Regions from separate parts of the Homo sapiens genome. Here region 2 is linked to region 1. The links are contacts of gene promoters, found by promoter capture Hi-C in blood cells and fetal thymus (Javierre and others, 2016). All regions are on one chromosome and are shown on one strand. The core of a region is centred on a gene start or on the middle of the fragment in contact, and the rest is flanking DNA. Distances in the headings are between cores, read along the strand shown. Region 1 holds the start of TMEM215 (transmembrane protein 215). Region 2 has its middle 4.3 kb from the start of TAF1L.

Evidence for each region. Contacts are between HindIII fragments. The CHiCAGO score rates a contact against its expected background, and 5 or more counts as called.
Region 2: a fragment that was not itself captured here is called in contact with the fragment with the promoter of TMEM215 in region 1 in 2 of 17 cell types (M2 macrophages and M0 macrophages); the score reaches 7.2 in M2 macrophages.

The regions. Positions count from the first base shown.
Region 1 is chr9:32,780,522-32,785,988 of GRCh38, reverse strand. TMEM215 (transmembrane protein 215) reads right to left here and starts at 2,449. Exons shown (of 2, transcript NM_212558.3): 1 at 2,184-2,449; 2 at 1-1,863. The coding sequence starts at 1,805. The coding sequence ends at 1,098. It overlaps LOC105376017 (a long non-coding RNA gene), which reads left to right and starts at 3,083. Exons shown (of 7, transcript XR_929559.2): 1 at 3,083-3,346. The HindIII fragment of the contact is 4,873 bases long and covers 635-5,467 here.
Region 2 is chr9:32,637,243-32,642,611 of GRCh38, reverse strand. No RefSeq gene overlaps it. Among named protein-coding and RNA genes, the nearest start is that of TAF1L, 4.3 kb to the right of the region's middle. The HindIII fragment of the contact is 1,256 bases long and covers 1,629-2,884 here.

The sequences.
Region 1 (5,467 bases), core at 1,200-3,699:
AAATCTAGGCTTCAGTTAAATTTAGTAGATGAGTTCTTGTTTCACTGGCATTTACAGTCTGTGAGAGGAGTTGAACAAATGTACAAATAATGACACTTCCAAAGGTTTAACCATTGCATTTCATACAAATTATGTGCAATGTTCAAGGCTAATGTGTAGACTTTATAGTTTTCAGATTTTAAAAGGTATGTAGGAATGGTAATTATCAGTACATGTCTGCCAATGTTAAAGACTTGGATATATATGTAAAATTCATTTTGTCTTGATGAAAACAAATTCCAATCTATGAAAGTATCATTTCAAATAATGTTGCACCTGGTAAGGAAATAATACATGAATGATAGTAAATGTTTAGAAAAAACCCATTTCAGATAAAGATGCAATAAATGGATTTAAACGAAGAGTTTAAGAAGTAACATAGCCATCTAAAAATGTTAACTTTTCACATAGCTGCTCACACTTATTTTACTTTATTAGAGACCATGATCTTGTCAGACAATAATGCCACAAGACTCAGTTACATAATCCAACTCTCTTTAACTACCCTTTTCCCAAAAACCATCCCATCTAAGGAGGGTTTAACTCTTGTATCTTGATTTTTTTTTCTTTCAGCAAATACCAAGTGTGATAAGCTTTTAACCAGGCAAAAATTACTTTATATAACGGATCATTAATTTTATTTTCAACTTATTCAAACATAAAGCAGCTCAGTTTCCCTGTGGTCAGCTCATGCATCATTTGATGCCTCACATCTGCAGCCCACTCTAGATTTATCTTGCTCTCAGCTGGTTCTGGATAGCACTTTTTGGGTTATTTTACAAAACATTTAACATTGTGTAAATTGTTAAGAAGCAACTGGAGTAGCTTCCTTTCCTACCCACTGCCTCTTCCAGTGTCCTTAACCCTCATCGCCCTTCCCTAAAATGTGTCCCCAACATGCCTATTTACATGACTCTCGGGTACCAGAGGTTATCACACCCATCACATACCAGGTCAATTTCTAACAGTGTGAAGGCTCTCCAAGCAGAGCAATTTGCTTCCACGGGGAGCTGGGCTTAGTCATATTCTATCAATCCAGCCACCTTTGTAGGCAGAGATTAGACGATGGTCTCGTGGTCCCACCTGCCTTGTATCTGATTGATATAACAACAGTATCTGTCATACGGGCTGTTCTGCTTGTAGGAGCAAACGATGATACTGTCCTGGGGCACAAAGAAGATGCTATCCTCAGGCTCAGGGCACTCAGATCTGTCCCTTGCTGAGCACTTGACGTCCAAGGCACTGTAGGTGAGGGAACTGCCCGAGGGGCAGTAGCCGTCCAGGTATCTGGACGTCTCCTCCTGATGCCCATTCTGGACGAGGCTCTGGCATTCTCCTTCCTCCGTGGGTGTGGGGCTGTTGATGGAGCTGGCCACGGACACCTCACCCTGGCTTTGTGGGGGAGGCTTCCCCCTGAGGCCCGCCTTCTTAGCCAGCTCATCTGAGCTCCCCTTGCCGGATTCTAGGTCTGAAGGGGTCCTCAGCAGCTCTACCACCTCCTTGTCTTTGGGTTTCCGGAAGCAGGGCAATTTGCGGACCCACAGCAGCTCGTTCTCTGGCCACTTGGTGCATCCCTCGGTTTTCCTGGCCAGGGCAATGGCTGCGATGCCTGGTAGGCAGATGGCTGGCCCGATGGCCAGGAGGGGGATGTTTCCCAAAGTCTCCCCTTTCATCCCAGAGACGGTGAACATGAAACCAAAGACGAGGAAGACACTGACCAGGGCCACCACCAGCCCAGTCCTCGGGTTAATGTCATCAGGCCGCATGTTTCACTCCATCCAGGTTGGGGGCTGCTTGCTGACCAGGGAGCAGCGTTCCTCTATTCTGTCAGAGATGAAACCACAGTGCGTTAAAAAAAAATCCAAGTCAAGCTCCCACCCATCAACTCTTGTCTTTCTCTTGCCCTTTGTCTCCGACTTGCTTCTTGACTTTCAGTCTTGATCTCTGTCTCTGTATCTCTCTTGCAATCTCTCTATCTCTCTCTCTGCGTTTCTCTTGCAATCTCTCCCTGTTTCTATTTCTACTCTTTCTCTCCGTCCCCTCTCCCTCCCTCCCTTTCTTGTGCCCTCCCTCTCTTCCTCTCACTATTGCAACCTCCGTCTCTCTCTCATATCAACACGCTCCGGCTGGGGTCAACGAGGTACCTGAGGTTTCCTGCCCTCTCCAGGAAGTAGGGAAAGAAGCCAGGCTGTCTCCTCAGAAGCCCCCACAGCAGCTGCCCCCTCGGCTCGCTCCCTTGGTTCTGGGAGGAAAGCCTGGTTTCCCCCACGGACTCTGCATCGGGGAGGTGGAACCTGGGAGAGCGGCTCTCCCAGCAGTGCCCGTCGGTCCCGGTGCTGTGCAAGCGGAGCCCGGCGCCAGCTCAGCGCGCAGAGCGCGGGGCGCGGGAGGAGGAGGGAGCACTGAGTCTGGGAAAGAGGGGACGCGGCGCGAGCCTGGCCTTGTTACATCACTGTCAGAGCAGGCTCAGAAACGCAGACAGACGCGCGGGGGCGCGAGGGGGTCAGCCCCAGAGGGAGGCCACCCGGCGGCAGGCGCTGCCCGGGGTCTCGTCGGGGCTGCTGGGAGCGGCCGGGGTTTGTGCCGCCGCCGTTCCGGAGGCTGAGCAGGGCGACCTGACCCGCTTCCGTGCCCGGGAAGGGTCTGGGGCGCGAGGCTGCCAGTGGCCGGAGTCGGAAACCAGGGTCGGTTTGCCCACGGGGCAGCCGTTGCAATATCCGAGCTCGGGCTCCCAGTCCGGGATCCGAGGAGTTAGGTGCCAGCTGGAGATGTCCCTCCGGGACCCGCACCCTTCTCCAGTTACAAATCCGGGTGACTGACGGCAGGCCCAGGGGCTCCCCGACCGCCCTTCTCTCAACCCCTCGACTCGGGGCGCGGGGGGGTGTGTGTCCCTCGGGGAGCCGGTGCCCGAGGACTGCTTTGGTCCCGGCTCTGGGCGGTGGCGGCGCGCGAAAGCGCTCTTGCAGCGGAGCGACTGCGCCGCGGGAGCGCACAGAACCAGCGCCCAGGCGGAGTGGGTTAGTGGTGAGGGGTGGGTGCCAGGCTAGTCCGGGCCTTGGGGGAGTCCCCGGAGTCCCCGTGGCTTTCCAGCTCCAGGCTCGGGAGAGGGTGACCTTGGAGCCGGGATTTCACTTCTACAGCGCTGTGGTGCCGGGGGGACAGGGAGAAGGGCTCCCTGGCCCCCAGTTCACGAGGAGAAGGGGCCTTGACCGGTCAGGACCACCACCCTACGACGCCGCTCAGCTCTGGGCGATTCTCTCCTCCCTTGCTGAAGCAGGCATTGAGAGCCTGCGTTCCTCCCGCTCTGGTAGGCAGGGGCAGATGGATTCCTCTGGCCCCGGGGGGCAAGACTGGCTTTGGCTGTGATTCTTCAACAGGGCTGCCCATTTAGGATAGAGGAGGGCGGTGGAGAACAGGTTGATGAGCGGTACATGCTTTCATGTCAAGACACTGATTTACTGGAAAGAATTTTCACATCCAGGCCTTCCCCAGTTAAACTAGCTGTATATTCCTGGGCAAGTGACTTAACCTCTCTGAGAATCAGTCGTCCTATCTGTAAAATGAGATTAATACCAAATATATGAGGAAACATTGTGAGGATTAAATAAACGTAAAGTTCCTAGCACAATGCTTGGTACATAGTCTGTGTACAAAAATTACACACACATGCACACACGTACACATGTATATGTATATATATTTGTCATCATAATTAGTGTCTTCATCATGTATGACAGGAGCCAAACAAATCATAAAGGCTGTGAGACTAAGGACTTTTTATCCACTAGGCAATGAAGAACGCTTGATGTATTTTAAGCAAAGATCAATACAAAAACATTCCAGTTTGACTGAAAGGGGCGGCAGGTGAGAGCATAGGTTGGAGCTGGTAAGTCTGGAAGCCGGGAGTCTTGTTCAGTAAGCTGAGAAGTTCAGTAAGCCGGGCAAGACATGATGTGGCCTTAACAATGTCGGGCTGGTAGAGGAGTTGGAAGGAAGCAGATCTGAGGGTATTTAAGGGTTGAGTGAAGTGTCTTGGAGCACAGTGAAGTGAGATGAAGGGAGGAGCCAAGGTCAACTCCCAACTTTCTCACTTTCAAAGGGGTGGATCAGGAAGCAGATCCTTCTCATTTTCCTCTCCATCATCTATTTTGTATCTTTTGTACTCATGACCATTAGACAGCTGCTGCACCTTTAGGCATAGAATCATTTAGGAGGGAAGAAAGGAGAAAATGCAAAGGGTAAAAGTGAGGTGCCAGTTCTTTGGCCACTTGTATGAGGACAATAATAATTTTCCTGGCAGCCCCCCCAAGTAGATAGGCATCTGCCTGTAATTGACCAGAGATGGATGAGCTTTGGGATACAAAGGTACCTGGGAAATTGTTGTTTATTTATTTACCAGATCCACTGATGGTCTGAAAAAAGGGTTTTGTTTAAAAGGAGCAGCATACTGCTCCTTTTAAATACTGGGGAAGCAGCTCGCTACGTGTGTTACAATTATTGAAAAGTTTTCCCTTCTTAAAACCGTTTCTTTTACTGACACCATTCTATCCTAGTTTTCTTCCTATCTCCCTGGTCACTTATTTGTAGGCTACTTTATAAACTCCTATTTTATTTATTTTTTATTTTAACAAACCCCTTAGATACTGATGTTCTGTGGGTTCTATTCTTGCTTCTCCCCTTTCTTGATTTCTCTTCTCTTTCTTCTCATTCTGTAATAGCCTCGAACAGCCTGAATAGGCTGATGACTCCCAAAACTCTCTCTTTAGCTTTGTCATTTTCCCTCAGCCCCAAATCTATAATATCCAACTGTCTGCTTGATATCTCTAATCTGGATGGTATGCAGACACCTCACACTTGCTAGGGACTTTAGACTTCAGGGATTTAGACTTTAGTGATTTTGATCTATGGGGATTTCAACATTAGGGATTGTGGGGTTTGGGATTGTGTCCTTTGGGATTATGTTCCAAACCCAACCTCATCATTCCTTCCATTTGCCAACTGAGAATATTTGCAATTGTTCTCTACTCCTTTCTCTCCCTAACAGCCTACGTCCAGTAAGTCACCCAAGTCATTATAGTTTTACCTCCTAAGTCCTTTGATTATCCCCTCTTATGGTGGTGACCCTAGGAAAATAACTTTACCTTCCTGTGTTTCAACTTCTTAATGAAACAAAGACTTTGAATGAGGTGCTAGGTAAGATTCATTTTAGCTCTAATGTTCCTTGGTTCTCTTGTAGTTACTTCTGCAGGGCTGAGCTGATGTCAGTGTTGTGGACGTGTTTTGACAATAGTGCTGGAAATAAAGTTGGGTCCTAAAGAAGCAAGATTGCTGAGTGGAGACCTCCTGTCACTTGTACAAACATCCAGTTCTTTTCTGATTTTTAAGCCATGCAGTTTATCTACTTAGGCATTAGATAAGACCCGGGCAT
Region 2 (5,369 bases), core at 1,007-3,506, 140 kb after region 1:
GGTGATGAAATAATTTGTACAACAAACCCCTGTGACACATTTACCTATATAACAAACCTTCACATGTACCCCAAAACCTAAAATAAAAGTTATAAAAAAGAAAAACCAACAATGTTCTCCTTTCCCATGACTCTCATTCCCACTATCATTCCTTCCTCAAAACAAGAAATGGCAGTTTAATGTTTATATTTTTTCTATGTTCATATGAATGCACTCAAAAATATTCACACCATAAAATGCTTTTTCTTATTTAAAAAAATAAAAAATGAAAATGAAACAATTTCTAATTTTAACTATCCTAAGTAGTTTAAACATATTTAATGTCATATTAAAATTTTTAAATTGAACGACATCAGGAAATCATTTTGATGAAAGAAAATTGAATTTCCCATTCTGTATGATAACTAAAAAATAAATGTTTTCTGTGGAGAAAATAAATTATGTTTAAAACAAAGACTGAAAGAACTAATTGGATATATATATATAAAATTTAGAAATAATTAAAGTACTTAAGGTTTTATTAATGTGTTATTATTTGGGAAAATGTTTCAGAATTTGTAGACATGCAAGCTTGTTTGTATTCTTTGAAGATTCCAAATGTTTCTTTTGTTTTGTATAAGAGCTCAAAAGTTACCTAATACCCACCTGCCACCATATCATCATATATGAAAGTATTTGATGAAATATGAAAAAATGAAAAATAAAAAATAATCTAGAAGTCAAAGGGTACAAAGCTATTTCTGAGACTAAAGAAATAATACTGCAAATAAAGTGACAAACTGTTGAGCATTTTTCACGGCAGGGGTGGGGAGATACTTCTGTCTATCAAGTTGATACCAAAGAAGGCTGTTATTTGCTGTTGCCCAGAGGGTCCCATTATAATTCTTTTTCTTAAATTTTACTCAAAAGAACAAATGTCATTTTAATGCCAATGTTTTCAAATGCTGTTTATTCCTTAGATTTACTTTTCTAAAATTTGGCCTCACTATTGCTCAATCCATGGCTTTACTTGCACTTTCAGCAACTGTTGGTTGACAACACCCCCTCCCCTCCCCTCCCCTCCCCTCCCGTTCCCTCCCCTCCTATCCTGTCCCCTCCCTTCCCCTCCTGTCCCCTCCCCTTCCCTTCCCTTTTCTTTGAGACGGAGTCTCTCGCACTGTCGCCCAGGCTGGAGTGCAGTGGCACGATCTCAGCTCACTGAAAGCTCCGCCTCCTGGGTTCACACCATTCTCCTGCCTCAGCCTCCCAAGTAGCTGGGACTACAGGTGCCTGCCACCACGCCCGGCTAATTTTTTTTTTGTATTTTTAGTAGAGACAGGGTTTCACTGTAGCCAGGATGGTCTTGATCTCTTGACCTCGTGATCTGCCCGCCTTGGCCTCCCAAAGTGCTGGGATTACAGGCGTGAGCCACTGCCCCCGGCCAGACCACGCTTCATTTTTTAATCACTTTCTTCACTTGGCTTGAAGCATCACTTTCTCTTCGTTCTCCTTCTATGCCACTGGCTGTTCAGGTCCTTCTTATCTACTGATTGCTGAGTATTAGAACACTGCAGAGTTTAGCCCTAAAATCTTTTTATTTCTTTGTCTTTACTTACTCCTTAGGTAACACCATTCACAGTCCCTAAGCTTTGAAAGCATTTATATACCAATGAGCCTCAAATTTATAATTCTAGCCCTGACCTATTTTCCTAACTTGTAGACTTGTACTCGGCCTCTACTGAAATCTCCAGTTGAAATCTATCTAATAGGGAATCTTAAAATTAACCTGTCCAAAATCAAACTCCTGACTCTCCACTAACATCCCCCATGTCTCTGCTGTTGTCTTCTCTTTATACAGTCTTCTACATCTCAGGAAATGGTTTCTCTGTCCGTCTAGTTGCCCAGGCTAAAACCTTATCTCCTGTCTTTCTCTGACACCACATATCCAGTTCATCAGTAAATCCTGTTGACTTTACCTTCAAAATACTATGTATTAAAAATCTGAACACTTTCACCACCTCTGTTGCTACTATCTTGGTCCATGCTTCCGTCGTATCTCACTCTCTCACCAGAATTATTTTAATAACTTCCCAGCTGGACCCACTTCTTCTTTTACCTCATTACAATCAGTTTTCAACATAGAGGCCAGAGTTATCTATTTCAAATGCAGGTAAGATCAAGTCATTCTTTTGCTCAAAACTTTTAATGGCTCCTTCTTTCACTCACAGTAAAATTCTGAAACAGTAATGACCTGCAAGGCCCTATATAATTTTGCCCTCAGCTACCCCCTCACCTCATCATTTTATCTCTTGCCACCTACCCTCTTGCACACACACTGCCCCCAAAGTTACATAGAACAATTACCTCTCTCACTTTTCATAGCTATTCACTCAAATGTCATAATTTCAGAAGGATCTTCCCTGACAACTTTTTCCCTCACCCATGGCATTCCTATCTCCCTTATTCTGCCTTAGTTTTCGCAATAGCACTTATCACCACCTGACATAATATGTATTTACTTGTTTATTTATTTTTGGTCTCCCCCATTAAGATATTAGCCCATATTCCAGATTCCAGGGCTAGCAGAGCAGATGATTTCAATCAAATCTCCCACTTGAAGACAATTTTAAAAGTGGAACAAAACACACACACAGACACACACTTTCTTACAAACATTAGAATCTAACAAGATAGTAAGGAATTAAGACAACAATTAGAGCTCAAAGAGGTGAAACAACATCTCTTTGGAAAGGAGGATTTGCTGATAGTTAAAAGGAAGCTGAGGCAGAGCTTCACTGAGATCTTGGGAAATCACCCACTGTGTATCCTGGAACCACAAGGCCTGCCATTTTGGCTTTGAGGCTTTTTGGCAATGGACTGGAAGCAGCAGACACAGAGCTAAGCTTTTGATTACTCAGATGCATGCAAGTTTAGGAACTGGTGTTCATCTCCCTCAAAGACAGAGGCCCTAATATAGTATCTTTTGCTCTGGCTTGAGACAAAGACTGCAACCTGGAAGCATGGTTTATGGATTTTACTCTAGCCTGCCAAACCCTCAAATATTGGTTCCAGACTGCTAATATACTCAGGTGTCTTAAAGGTGAAAAAAAGTAAAATCCTTTGTGAAGGAAAATAACACCATCCTGGGTCTCAAACTATCAATAAATATAATTTTAATTTTTTTACCAAGCTATGAAAGACTATAATGCAAAATGAGACTCAAGACAAATCAAGCCAGAACTAAGGAAAACAGTGGACAACAAAAACAAGAGCTACAAGAGTCCAAATACCAGAATTATCAGACGGATGTTGTAAAACAACAGTACTAATATGCTCATGGATATAAATGCTTTGTTTAAAAATATCAGTGCAGTCATAGAAACCATAAGAGGTGACCTTGTAAAACTAAAAAAGAACCAACTAGAAATTATAAAATTGAAAAATACAATAGGTAAAATGAAGAGCTGAATGGATGGGTTTAACAGAGGATTACATAAAATTGAAGAAAAAAATTGTAAACTGGAAGCTGGGTCAGAGAAAAATATACAGAATGAAACCTAAAGAAAATTTTTAAAAGGGAAAGTACAGAATATTGACTAAGAAACATAGAGGATAAAGTAAGGTCTAACATTCACATAACTGGAGTATAAAAAAGAAAAAGATAAAATGGAGCAGGGGCAATATTTTAAGAGATAATGTCAAAGAATTTCAGAGAACTAATGAAAGACATTCAATTTTACTATTTAATAAGCCTAAAGGGTCAAATGAAGCTAAAAGAATAAAAAGAGAAATTTGCCTCCAGGCCAGGCACAGTGGCTCATGCCTGTAATCCCTGCACTTTGGGAGGCCGAGGTGGACAGAGTACTTGAGGTCAGGAATTCGAGACCAGCCTGGCATGGTGGCACATGCCTGTGGTCCCAGCTACTAGGGAGGCTGAGGCAGGAGAACTGCTTGAACCCCGTGGGTGAAGGTTGCAGTGAGCCAAGATTGTACCACTGCACTCCAGCCTGGGTGACAGAGTGAGACTCTGTCTAAAAACAAAAAAAGAAAAGAAAGAAAGAAAAAAAAGAAAATAAATCTGCCTCCAGAAACATGTAGTGAAACTGTAGAAAATGAAATGCAAGGAGAAAATCTTAAATATAACAAAAGGAAAAGGACAGATTACCAACAAAAAAGCACCAATCTGATCAACAGCTGATGCGAAAAGCCAGTACAAGTGAAAACCAGAGGTCAATGGAAAGATAACTTCATGATATTGAAAGAAATAAAAAACTACCAACATAGACTTCTTTGTCCAGAGAACAAATATTTTAATAAGAAAGGTAAAATATACAGTGATATGAAAAAATAAGTGATGAACTGGCAAAATACTTTCAATTTATATTACAGAAAGGGTAAATATCCCTAACATATTAAAATCTTATTTAAAAAGAGGAGAAAGGACTAACAACCTTAGAAAAATGAATAAGAGATATGAACAAATACACAGGAAAAATAAATGCAAATTCCCCTTGGTTGAAAAGATACTCCATGTCATCCATGATAAGATAAATGAAATTAAAACTACAGCGAGATACTGTCTTATACCTATGAGATCAGCAAAAATTCAAAAATTTGACAGCATGCTATGTTGTTGAGGCTTGGGGAAACTGTCCCTCTCATTCATTGCTGTTAGGAATGAAAAATGGTTCAACAACTAAGGAATAGAACTTGGCAAATACCGATGAAATAATATCTGCATTTACTCTTTGACCCACTAGTCCCTCTTGCAGGAATCTATCCCAAAGATGTGCTGACCAAAAAAAAAAAAAAAAAAAAAAAAAGGATGCATACATAAGACTTTTCACTGCAGCACTGTGTGAAATAGCAAAGCCTGGAAACAACTCAAATACCTGTCAATGGGTGGCTGGTATACTCACCCAAGTGATAACTCTACAGTTATCAAAAATAAGAAGGAATCTCTTTATAAACTACTACAGAGTAATCTCCAAGATATATTTTTAAGCAAGAAAAGCAAGGTGGAAAAGTAAATACTATTGGTTATCTAAAAGGAAGAGATAAAAACATGCATACACAATTGATAGTATTTAAAAATAGAATGATAAATAATAACACTTTAAATATGATTACTTATAGAGGATTACATAAACAACCACCCAAGATAATCTGCAATCAAATTGTGAAAATCATTAAGACAGTTGACTAGACTAGTCCCAGCTACTTGGGGAGGCTGAGGCAGAAGAATCACTTGAACCTGGAGACAGAGGTTGCAGTGAGCCAAGATCGCGCCACTGCACTCCAGCCTGGGCAACAGAGCAAGACTGTCTCAAAAAAAAAAAAAAAGCATAAAGGAAAAATTTGATAAGATTGAAATTTTAAAATATATATTA